Regions from separate parts of the Homo sapiens genome. Here region 2 is linked to region 1. The links are contacts of gene promoters, found by promoter capture Hi-C in human tissues and cell types (Jung and others, 2019). All regions are on one chromosome and are shown on one strand. Each heading gives the region's core, a stretch centred on a gene start or on the middle of the fragment in contact. The rest is flanking DNA. Distances are from core to core; before and after follow the strand shown. Region 1 holds the start of TCP11L1 (t-complex 11 like 1). Region 2 has its middle 25 kb from the start of QSER1.

Region 1 (5,296 bases), core at 2,092-4,591:
TGTATTTTTAGGAGAGATGGGGCTTCACCATGTTGGCCAGGCTGGTTTCGAACTCCTGACCTCATGATCCACCTGCCCTGGCCTCCCAAAGTGCTGGGATTACAGGCGTGAGCCACTGCGCCTGGCCTAATTTTGTATTTTTAGTAGAGACGGGGTTTCACCATGTTGGTCAGGCTGGTCTCGAACTCCTGACCTCAGGTGATCCACCTGCCTCGGTCTCCCAAAGTACTGGGATTACAGCCATGAGCCACTGCGCCCTACAGAAAACAGAATCTTATGAAATGTTTAAGAGGAATGTGTGGGGCAAATATTTTTATTACCTTCTTGCCAGTAATTAGGAAAAAGATTGTGAGTAAGAAGCTGCAAACAACCATAATGTATGCAGTTGGGTGGGCTTTTTATTAGTTGCTGATCAGAATAGCAATAACACTTGACACTGTGCTTTGGAGCAGTTAATAAAAGGTCTGCCTGGGCCTCCCAAAGTGCTGGGATTACAGGCATGAGCCACCGTGCCCAGCCTAAAACAGGCCTAAAACAGGCGGATCATGAGGTCAAGAGATCGAGACCATCCTGGCTAACACGCTGAAACCCCGTCTCCACTAAAAATATTAAAAAATTGGCCTGGCATGGTGGCGGTGCCTGTAGTCCCAAATACTCAGGAGGCTGAAGCAGGAGAATGGCATGAACCCGGGAGGCAGAGCTTGCAGTGAGCCGAGATCGCACCACTGCACTCCAGCCTGGGCAACAGACTGAGACTCTGTCTAAACAAACAAACAAACAAACAAAAAAACCCTGTTTTAATTACAGTAAAAGTTTTAGTCAATTCCTCCACTCTCCCTTTTCCTAGGGTGTTTCTGGGAGAGAAGACACAATGTTTCTGCATTTGCTGAAAATAATTAACATTTGTAACATCAGCACTTGAAGATCACAAAACATTTTCATAAACACTAATTAGACTTTCTTACACACATGGAAGGTAATCAGGTGATCAAAAGAAATGTCAACTGATTTAGGGAGTTTGGCAGACTGTGTTCTGCATATTAGAGAGAGGTGAAGAATCACCTGATAGAATTATGTGAAATTTCAGAGAACTCCATTAAATAGAATGAAGTTACTGGGATTGAAATATTCAGGCCTGTTTTTTTGTTTTTTTTTTGGGGACAGACTCTTGCACTGTTCCCCAGATTGAAGTGCAGTGGCACCATCTCGGCTCAGCTCACTGCAACCTCTGCCTCCCAGGTTCAAGGGATTCTTCTGCCTCAGCCTCCCCAGTAGCTGGGATTATAGGCGCCCACCACCACGCCTCGCTAATTTTCGTATTTTTAGTAGAGATGGGGTTTCACTATGTTGGCCAGGCTTGTCTCGAACTCCTGACCTCTAGTGATCCGCCCGCCTCAGCCTCCCAAAGTGCTGGGATTATAGGCGTGAGCCACTGCACCTGGCCCAGGCCTGTATTAATATGAAAGTTGTTTTCATGTATTTTCCCTTTCGAGACCCATCTTAGCTTCCAACACCCCACTGGAGACACCCATCTCCTCTGTGTCCTAAATCCTATTAGGGTCAGGAAATGCTCCAAGATCCAAAGGATAACATTACCAGCATATTCTGTGAGAAACGACAAACAAAACGCTGCTAATTTTATTATCTTCACATGCTGAGAAGGAGCCCAGGAGGGATGAAGTAATTCATTCTGTGCAGTGAGGAGGAAAGGGAGGATTTCTAGGTCTCTAATGCTCAGCTTAGTAAACTAACCCCATCCTTAAGATTGAGTTCAAGTCCTGTCTCTTCCCAGGACACTTCCCGGACCTCACCAGTGATTGCACCTTTCTCAACTCCTGCAGGGCTGGCTAGTTGACATTTGGCATTTGTCACTGCCTTAAATTCAATTCAAAGCGTGCTTATTTAAATAGAAAGATGCAAATACATAGTCTAGAGGGGGAGGCAGACAGGCTTACAAGGAGCCATAATGAAACTTAAGTGGCATTATGAAATTGCCCAGGGAATATAGCAGAGGAAGAAACTAACTCTGCCTGGGAGGAGATTGAGAAAACCTTCCCAGAAAAGATGACATTTGAACTGATCTTTAAAAGGAGTAGGATTTCACCTAGTTAAAACATGTCTGGAGGGGGAGAGGAGGGGGAGAGGAGGTGAAAAGGAGGGCATTTCACTCAGAGGGCAGAAGCCAAGGCACAAGAAAATGAGAAAAGGAAGTGGCTAGAGATGATGGAAAGATGCGTTGGGGCCAGATGGTAAAAGTGCTAGTTTTTATTTTAAAATTCCCCACCTAGATTTCGAACTTCTTAAGAGCCAGGACCAGTCATATTCCCCACTTATGCTCCATCTGTATATCCCCCAAATAGACACCCACAAGTATCTGTTGATAGAGATGAATCCCTACGTCATCTCTGTGATGTCACTGTATCTGGGAGGCTGGGCGTTGGTTTCAGACATACCTGGGCCCCAATTCTGGCTCTTTACTAGCTGTGTAACTTCAGTGTCCTCCTCTGTAAAACACAGCTACCTACCTGCTCGGTTTGGGGGGAGATGAAACGAGGGATTGTGCACGGCAGGCCTTCTACAAATGGTAACTCTAATTAAAGGGCTCTAGGATGCGGCCACGAACCATTTAATTTGCTTATATCGCGCGCATCCATTCAACCCCCACTGTGTCTAAAAAGAGAGCCGAGGGGAGGAGGATCCTCGCACTTGCCAAGAAGACGGTCATCCGTCGGCGCTGCACGCGGGCCTAGGCTGGACACAAGAGGCTCCCCAGCAGAAAGGGTCTTTCGGCAAAAGAAAAAAGGGGCTCTGTCCCCCGGCGCCGGGAATCCCCTCCTCTGGCACTGAGCTCCACTCGCGCCCGGCGTCCGGATTCCGTTGTAAACAGCTGTTCAGGCCAGCGAGGGAGTGGCAGGGCCGGGAGTAGGGGAGGACGCGGGCGCGCCGAGAGGACAGCCTCGAGGGGTGAGCTCCACCCGCCCGCGGACCCCGCCTCTTCCTCGCCTGCCCCCGACATCCCGGGATGGGATCCGACGGGAAGAGGCGAAGAGATGCCTGCGACTTGGACCGCGCGCCTCCCGGACGGGCCCCGCCAGCCTCCGCCCCAGCTCCCGCTCTCACCTGCCACGGAGTCGGCGTTCTCCCTCCTGCCGCTCCCGCCGCGAATCAGGCGCGGGCTGGCGCCGCGGCGGAAGCCGGAGGGATGCGCGGCAGGCAGGGGCGGTTCAGCCTCTGCCCCTCCGAGGCCGCATCCCTCGCCACGCGGCGGGCGGTCCTCCCAGCCCGACTCGGGTGGGCAGCGGTCAGAGCGGCCGCTTCTCAGCATCAGGAAGGAGGAGACTGCTCTTGGCCGGGAGGCGCCAGCCCAATATAGGGCAGCGCCATGTCTTCGTACGGAAAGGCGGGAGGGTCTTTCCCCTGCTTGCCGAAGGGGTTCAGTAAGCGGTGACTCGCAGCTGGGCGGCGCCGTGTTTCCTCAGGGAGAGGTGGAAAACATGGCCGATGACCGCTCAGGGGGCTCCGTGGCCAGTGGCTCCCAGCCAAGAGTCGCCCGCCGCACGCAGTGAGGCGCCATGTTTTCGTACGGAAACGCGAGAGGCATGGCCGAGTGCCCGCCGATGAGTCTCAGCTGGCGGTGGCTCGAAGCTGGGGATGGCCCGCCCCTAGGCGCCATGTTTCCATACGGAAAGACGGAACGCGCGCCGCATCCCAGCCGCTGGTGCGGGTGACGCGAGGAGAAAGGGAGGCGGAGAAGGCGCGGGTCAGTCAAAAGAAGGAATAAGAAGCCATTGCATCTGAAACCTTCCCCGCCCGTTCTTTGAAATTTAATTTTGCCATCCTGTTTGTAGCTACACAAAGTTTATTCCCCTTCTCTCATTTCCTCAGCTTTAAAAAAAAGTTAGTCCGGGCGCAGCAGCTCACGCCTGTAATCCCAGCACTTTGAGAGGCCGAGGCGGGCGGATCACGAGGTCAAGAGATCGAGACCATCCTGGCCAACATGGTGAAACCTCGTCTTTACTAAAAATACGAAAATTAGCTGGGTGTGGTGGCGCGCGCCTGTAGTCCCAGCTACTCGGGAGGCTGAGGCAGGAGAATCGCTTGAATCTGGGAGGCGGAGGTTGCAGTGAGGCGAGATCGCGCCACTGCACTGCGGCCTGGAGACAGACCGAGACTCTGTCTCAAAAACAAACAAACAAAAAAAAACTACAAAAAAGCAGATGGGGTGACATTGGTGCTTTCAAACACTGCTTCTAAATAGATCACATGTGGGTAGTTATTGCTAACGTATTGAAGGCCGAGTGCAATACCAGACCCTCAAACCATTTACTAACTTGCACATTAAAGTCTTTGCTTTAAAAAAAAAAAAAAAAAGACAAAAACAGAAGTTCTCTGGTGAAGATTCACTTTTTGGAGGAAAAAACACCAAAAACCCTTAAGATACTCAACTAAATGGAACTGTTAAGATCTACAAAGAATGGCTGGGCGCGGTGGCTCACACCTGTAATCCTAGCTCTTTGGGAGGTCGGAGGTGGGTGGATCACAAGGTCAGGAGTTCGAGACCAGCCTGGCCAATATGGTGAAACCTCGTTTCTACTAAAAATACAAAAAAATTAGCCGGGCATGGTGGCATATGCCTGTAATCCCAGCTACTTGGGAGGCTGAGGCAGGAGAATTGCTTGAATCCGGGAAGCAGAGGTTGCAGTGAGCCGGGATCGCACCACTGCACTGCAGCCTGGGTGACAGAGTGAGATTCCGTCTGAAAAAAAAAAAAAAGATCTGCAAAGAAAACATGCAGTTCTTCTGAGTCTAAACTCGTACCATTAAGTCTCTAGTGTTTTTCAGCCCTGACTACAAATACAACTTGGAATCTCAGGGGCAGGGGTTGGAAAAGTATCATCCAAAACTCCGGGGAGGGTGATGCCAGACAAGTTTTAAAAGCTCCCTGGGGAAGCAGGCTAGAACCTTCCTTAAAAGATTAATATGGCTGGGTGCAATGGCTCACGCCTGTAATCCTAGCTCTTTGGGAGGTCGAGGCGGGCGGATCACCTGAGGTCAGGGGTTCAAGACCAGCCTGGCCAACATGGCAAAACCCCGTCTCTACTAAAAATACAAAAATTAGCTGGGCATGGTGGCAGGCGCTTGTAATCCCAGCTACTGGAGAGGCTGAGGCAGGAGAATCCCTTGAACCCAGGAGGCAGAGGTGGCAGTGAGCGGAGATCGCACCCCTGCACTCCAGCCTGGGAGACAGCGAGACTACATCTCAAAAAAAAAAAAAAAGGTTAATATAACCAATTTT
Region 2 (5,296 bases), core at 832-3,331, 170 kb after region 1:
GGCTAGCTGCCTCTGTGGCTGGGATTCCAGGAGTGTCCTAGCAGCAACTGAGAAATCTTTTGTCTTGGGGACCCTCTCTTCTGTCCCCTTCATGGAATCAGCAGCCTGTAACACTTTGGTGGTGCAAGTGGTATCCAAGGGAGTTGATGGGCCCCAAGACTGGGTAAGTCAAACCAGGGCACACACGGGGAATCCTCTGTCTATGCTATTTGAGCTTTTGTGTCATTTGGACATAGCATGGGTTGCTTGTGTATCATTTGGTGTAAGATAAGATTCTTGATAACATTTCTGCAGTGCCCCTTTTCAGGAATGAGTTTGGGAGTGTTACATTTGTTTTGGTTTCTATGTGTTTATTAGTTTATTATTATTATTATTATTTTTTTTTTTTTTTTTGAGATGGAGTCTCGCTCTGTCACCCAGGCTGGAGTGCAGTGGTGCGATCTTGGCTCAATGCAACCTCCGCCTCCCGGGTTCAAGTGATTCTCCTGTCTCAGCTTCCTGAGTAGCTGGGATTACAGGCAGGCGCTACCACACCTAGCAAATTTTTGTATTTTTAGTAAAGACGGGGTTTCACCATGTTGGCCAGGCTGGTCTTGAACTCTTGTCCTCTGGTGATCCACCTGCCTCGGCCTGCCAAAGTGCTGGGATTACAGGCATGAGCCACCGCGCCCGGCCTAATTATTATTTTTAAATTTTATTTTATTTTTATTTTTTGAGATGTAGTCTCGCTGTGTTGCCCAGGCTAGAGTGCAGTGGGGCAATCTCAGCTCACTGTAACCTCTACCTCCCGGGTTCAAGCAATTCTCCTGCCTCAGCCTCCCGAGTAGCTGGGATTACAGGTGCGCACCACGATGCCTGGCTAATTTTTGTATTTTTAGTAGAGATGGGGTTTCACCATGTTGGTCAGGCTGGTCTCGAACTCCTGACCTCATGATCTGCCTGCCTTAGCCTCCCAAAGTGCTGGGATTACAGGCATGAGCCACTGTGCCTGGCCTTAATTATTATTTTTTAAAAGAATTTCAGGCCGGGCGCAGTGGCTCACACCTGTAATCCCAGCACTTTGAGAGGCCAAGACAGGCGGATCACCTGAGGTCAGGAGTCTGAGACCAGCCTGGCCAACATGGTGAAACACCGTCTCTGCTAAAAATACAAAAATTAGCCGGGTGTGGTGGCTCGCGCCTGTAATCCCAGCTACTCCAGAGGCTGAGGCAGGAGAATTGTTTGAACCGGGAAGGCGGAGGTTGCAGTGAGCGGAGAATACACCATTACACTCCAGCCTGGGCAATAAGAGTGAAACTCCGTCTGAAAAAAAAAAAAAAAAAGGAATTTCAGTTAGTTTATCTTGAGACATAGCTTACATTAAAATTATATTAAAACAAGCTTTAATTTTGAGCCATACATTGATGGATTATTTTATCACAAGTAGTTCTTTATTTCTACTCACATTATTTTATTTTATTTTCACTTTATTTTATTTTTTACTCTATTGTTTTACTTTTAGGTTCAGAGGTACATGTGAAGGCTTGTTATATAGGTACACTTGTGTCATGGGGGTTTGTTGTACAGATTATTTCATCACCCAGGTATTAAGCCTAGTACACAATAGTTATTTTTTCTGCTTCTTCCTTCTTCCCACCCTCCACCCTCAAGTAGACCCTAGTGTCTGTTGTTCCCTTCTTTGCGTTCATGAGTTATTTAGCTTCCACTTATAAGTGAGAACATGTGGGATTTGGTTTTCTCTTCCTGCGTTAGTGTGCTAAGGATAATAACCTCCAGCTCTATCCATGTTCCTGCAAAAGACATGATCTTGTTCTTTTTCATGGCTGCATAGTATTCCATGGTGTATATGTACCACATTTTCTTCATCCAGTCTATCATTGATGGGCATTTAGGTTGATTCCATGTCTTTACTTTTGTGAATAGTGCTGCAGTGAACATTCGTGTGCATGTGTCTTTGTGTTAGAATGATTTATATTCCTCTGGGTGTATATACCCGGGAATGAGATTGCTGGGTTAAATAGTTCTGTTTTTAGTTCTTTGAGGAATCGCCATACTGTTTTCCACAATGGTTGATCTAATTGACATTTTCACCAACAGTGTATAAGTGTTCCCTTTTCTTTGCAACCTCACCAGCATCTGTTATTTTTTGACTTTTTAATAATAGCCATTCTGACTGTGCGAGATGGTATCTCATTGCGGTTTTGATTTGCATTTCTCTAATGTTCAGTGATATATTTTTTTTCTTATATGCTTGTTGGCCACATGTATGTCTTCTTTTGAAAAGTGTCTGTTCATGTCCTTTGCCCACTTTTAATGGGATTATTTTTCTTTTCTCTTTTCTTTTTTTTTTTTTTTTTTTTTGAGATGAAGTCTTGCTCTGTCACCCAGGCTGGAGTGCAGTGGTGCAATCTCGGCTCACTGCAACCTCCGCCTTCCAGGTTCAAGCTATTCTTCCACCTCAGCCTCCCGAGTAGCAGGGACTACAGGTGCATGCCACCATGCCCAGCTACTTTTTGTATTTTTAGTAGAGACAGGGTTCCACCATATTGGCCAGGCTGGTCTCGAATTCCTGACCTTGTGATCCACCCACCTCGGCCTCCCAAAGTGCTGGGATTACAAGCGTGAGCCACTGCGCCCAGCCTGATTGTTTTTCTATTGTAAATTTAAGTTCCTTATAGATGCTGGATATTAGACATTTGTCAGATGCATAGTTTGCAAGTATTTTCTCCCATTCTGTAGGTCCTCTGTTTACTCTGTTGATAGTTTCTTTTGCTGTGCAGAAGCTCTTAAATTTAATTAGATCCCATTTGTCAATTTTTGGTTTTGTTGTGATTGCTTTTGGTGTCTTTGTCATGAACTCTTTTCCCATTCCTATGTCCAGGATGGTATCACCTAGGTTGCCTTCCAGGGTTTTTATAGTTTTGGGTTTTACATTTAAGTCTTTAATCCATCTTGAGTTGATTTTTGTATATGGTGTAAGGAAGGAGTCCAGCTTCAAACTTCAGCATATAGCTAACCAGTTATCCTAGCACCATTTATTGAATAGAGAATCTTTTTCCCATTTCTTGTTTTTGTCAGCTTTGTCAAAGACCTTGTGGTCATAAGCGTGCAGCCTTGCTTCTGAACTCTCTATTCTGTTCCCTGGGTCTATGTGTCTGCTTTTGTACCAGTACCATGCTGTTTTGGTTACTGTAGCCCTGTAGTATAGGTTGAAGTTGGGTAACATGATGCCTCCAGCTTTGTTCTTTTTGCTTAGGATTGCTTTGGCTATTTGGGCTCTTTTTTTGTTCTGTATGAATTTTAAAATAGTTTTTTTCTAATTCTGTGAATAATGTCATTGGAAGTTTGATAGGAACAGCATTGAATCTGTAAATTGCTTTGGGGAGTATGGCCATTTTAGTGATATTGAATCTTCCTGTCCATGAGCATGGGATGTTTTCCATTTGTTTGTGTCTTCTTCGATTTCTTTGAGCCATGTTTTGCAATTGTCATTGTACAGATCATTCACCTCCTTGGATAGCTGTATTCCTATGTATTTTATTCATTTTGTGGCAATTGTGAATGGGATTGCCTTCCTCAATTTGGTTCTCAGCTTGGCTGTTGGTGGTGTATAGGAATGCCAGTGATTTTTATACATTGATTTTGTATCCTGAAACTTTGCTGAAGTTGTTTGTTTATCAGCTGAAGGAGCTTTTGGGCCGAGACTATGGGGCTTTCTGCATATAGAATCATGTTATCTACAAACAGGGATAGTTTAACTTCCTCTTTTCCTACTTGGATGCCCTTTATTTCTTTCTCTTGCCTGATTGCGCTGGCTAGGACTTTCAGTACTATGTTGAATAGAAGTAGTAAGAGAGAGGAATGCTTGTCTTGTGCCAGTTTTCAAGGGGAATACTTCCAGCTTTTGCCCATTTGGTATAATGTCAGCTGTGGGTTTGTCATAGATGGCTTTTATTATTTTGAGGTATGTTCCTTCAATACGTAGTTCATTGAGAGTTTTTAACATGAATGGATGTTGAATGTTATCAAAAGCTTTTTCTACATCTATTGAGATAATCATGTGGTTTTTTACTTTAGTTCTGTTTATGTGCTAAATCACATTTATTGATTTGTGTATGTTGAACCAAATTTGCCTCCTGAGGATGAAGCCTACTAGATCATAATGGATTAGCTTTTTGATGTGCTGCTGGATTTGGCTTGCAAGTATTTTGTTGAGGATTTTTGAATCAATGTTCATCAAGGATATTGGCCTGAAATTTTCTTATTTATGTGTTTCTCTGCCAGGTTTTGGTATCAGGATCATGCTGGCCACATAGAATGAATTGGGGAGGAGTCCCTCCTTTTCAATTTTTTGGAATAGTTTTAGTAGGAGTGGTACCAGCTTTTCTTTATACATCTGGTAGAATTTGGCTGCAAATTCTTCTCATCCTGGGCTTTTTTTGGTTGGTAGGCTGTTTATTCCTGATTCAATGTAGGAGCTTGCTATTGGTCTGTTCGGGGGGTCAATTTCTTCCTGGTTCAGTCTTGGGAGGGTGTATATGTCCAGGAATTTATCCATCTTTTCTAGGTTTTCTAGTTTGTGTGCATATAAGTGTTCATGGTAGTTTCTGATGATTATTTTTATTTCTGTGGGGTCAATGGTAACATCCTTTTCATCATTTCTTTTTTTTTTAATTTGAGACAGAGTCTCACTCTGTTGCCCAGGCTGGAATGCAGTAGGACCGTGTCAGCTCACTGCAACCTCCGTCTCCTGGGTTCAAGCAATTCTCCTGCCTCAGCTTCCCAATTAGCTGGGATTACAGGTGCCCACCACCACACCCAGCTAGTTTTTATATTTTTAGTAGAGATGGGGTTTCACCATTTTGGCCAGGCTGGTCTCGAACTCCTGACCTCAGGTGATCCACCCACCTCAGCCTCCCGAAGTGCTGGGATTACAGGTGTGAGCCGCCTTACGTCTTACCAGCGGTAAGACCAGCCTGGCCAAGATGGTGAAACCCTGTCTCCACTAAAAATACAAAAAAATTAGCTGGGCGTGGTGGCGGGCGCCTGTAGTCCCAGCTACCCGGGAGGCTGAGGCAGGAGAATGGCGTGAACCCGGGAGGCGGAGCTTGCAGTGAGCCGACATCACGCCACTGCACTCCAGGCTGGGCAACAGAGCAAGACTCCGTCTCAAAAAAAAAAAAATTTTTTTTTGGTAGAAAAGTTTATAAAGAAAAAAATAATCGTATATAAAAAAGGATCCTGTATGGTAAATATTTGTCTTAAAGTAATATGGTTATTTAAAAAAGAAAAAAAT

Evidence for each region. The method cuts DNA at HindIII sites, captures the fragments that hold promoters and counts their contacts. A contact is called where the count stands out against the background at its distance.
Region 2: a fragment that was not itself captured here is called in contact with the fragment with the promoter of TCP11L1 in region 1 in 1 of the 25 tissues and cell types used here (H1 embryonic stem cells).

The regions. Positions count from the first base shown.
Region 1 is chr11:33,037,617-33,042,912 of GRCh38, reverse strand. It overlaps TCP11L1 (t-complex 11 like 1), which reads right to left and starts at 3,341. Exons shown (of 10, transcript NM_018393.4): 1 at 3,121-3,341. RefSeq lists enhancers at 2,521-2,840, 3,321-3,670, 3,391-3,938 and a silencer at 2,941-3,340. The HindIII fragment of the contact is 11,210 bases long and covers 1-5,296 here.
Region 2 is chr11:32,865,481-32,870,776 of GRCh38, reverse strand. No RefSeq gene overlaps it. Among named protein-coding and RNA genes, the nearest start is that of QSER1, 25 kb to the left of the region's middle. The HindIII fragment of the contact is 7,091 bases long and covers 1-5,296 here.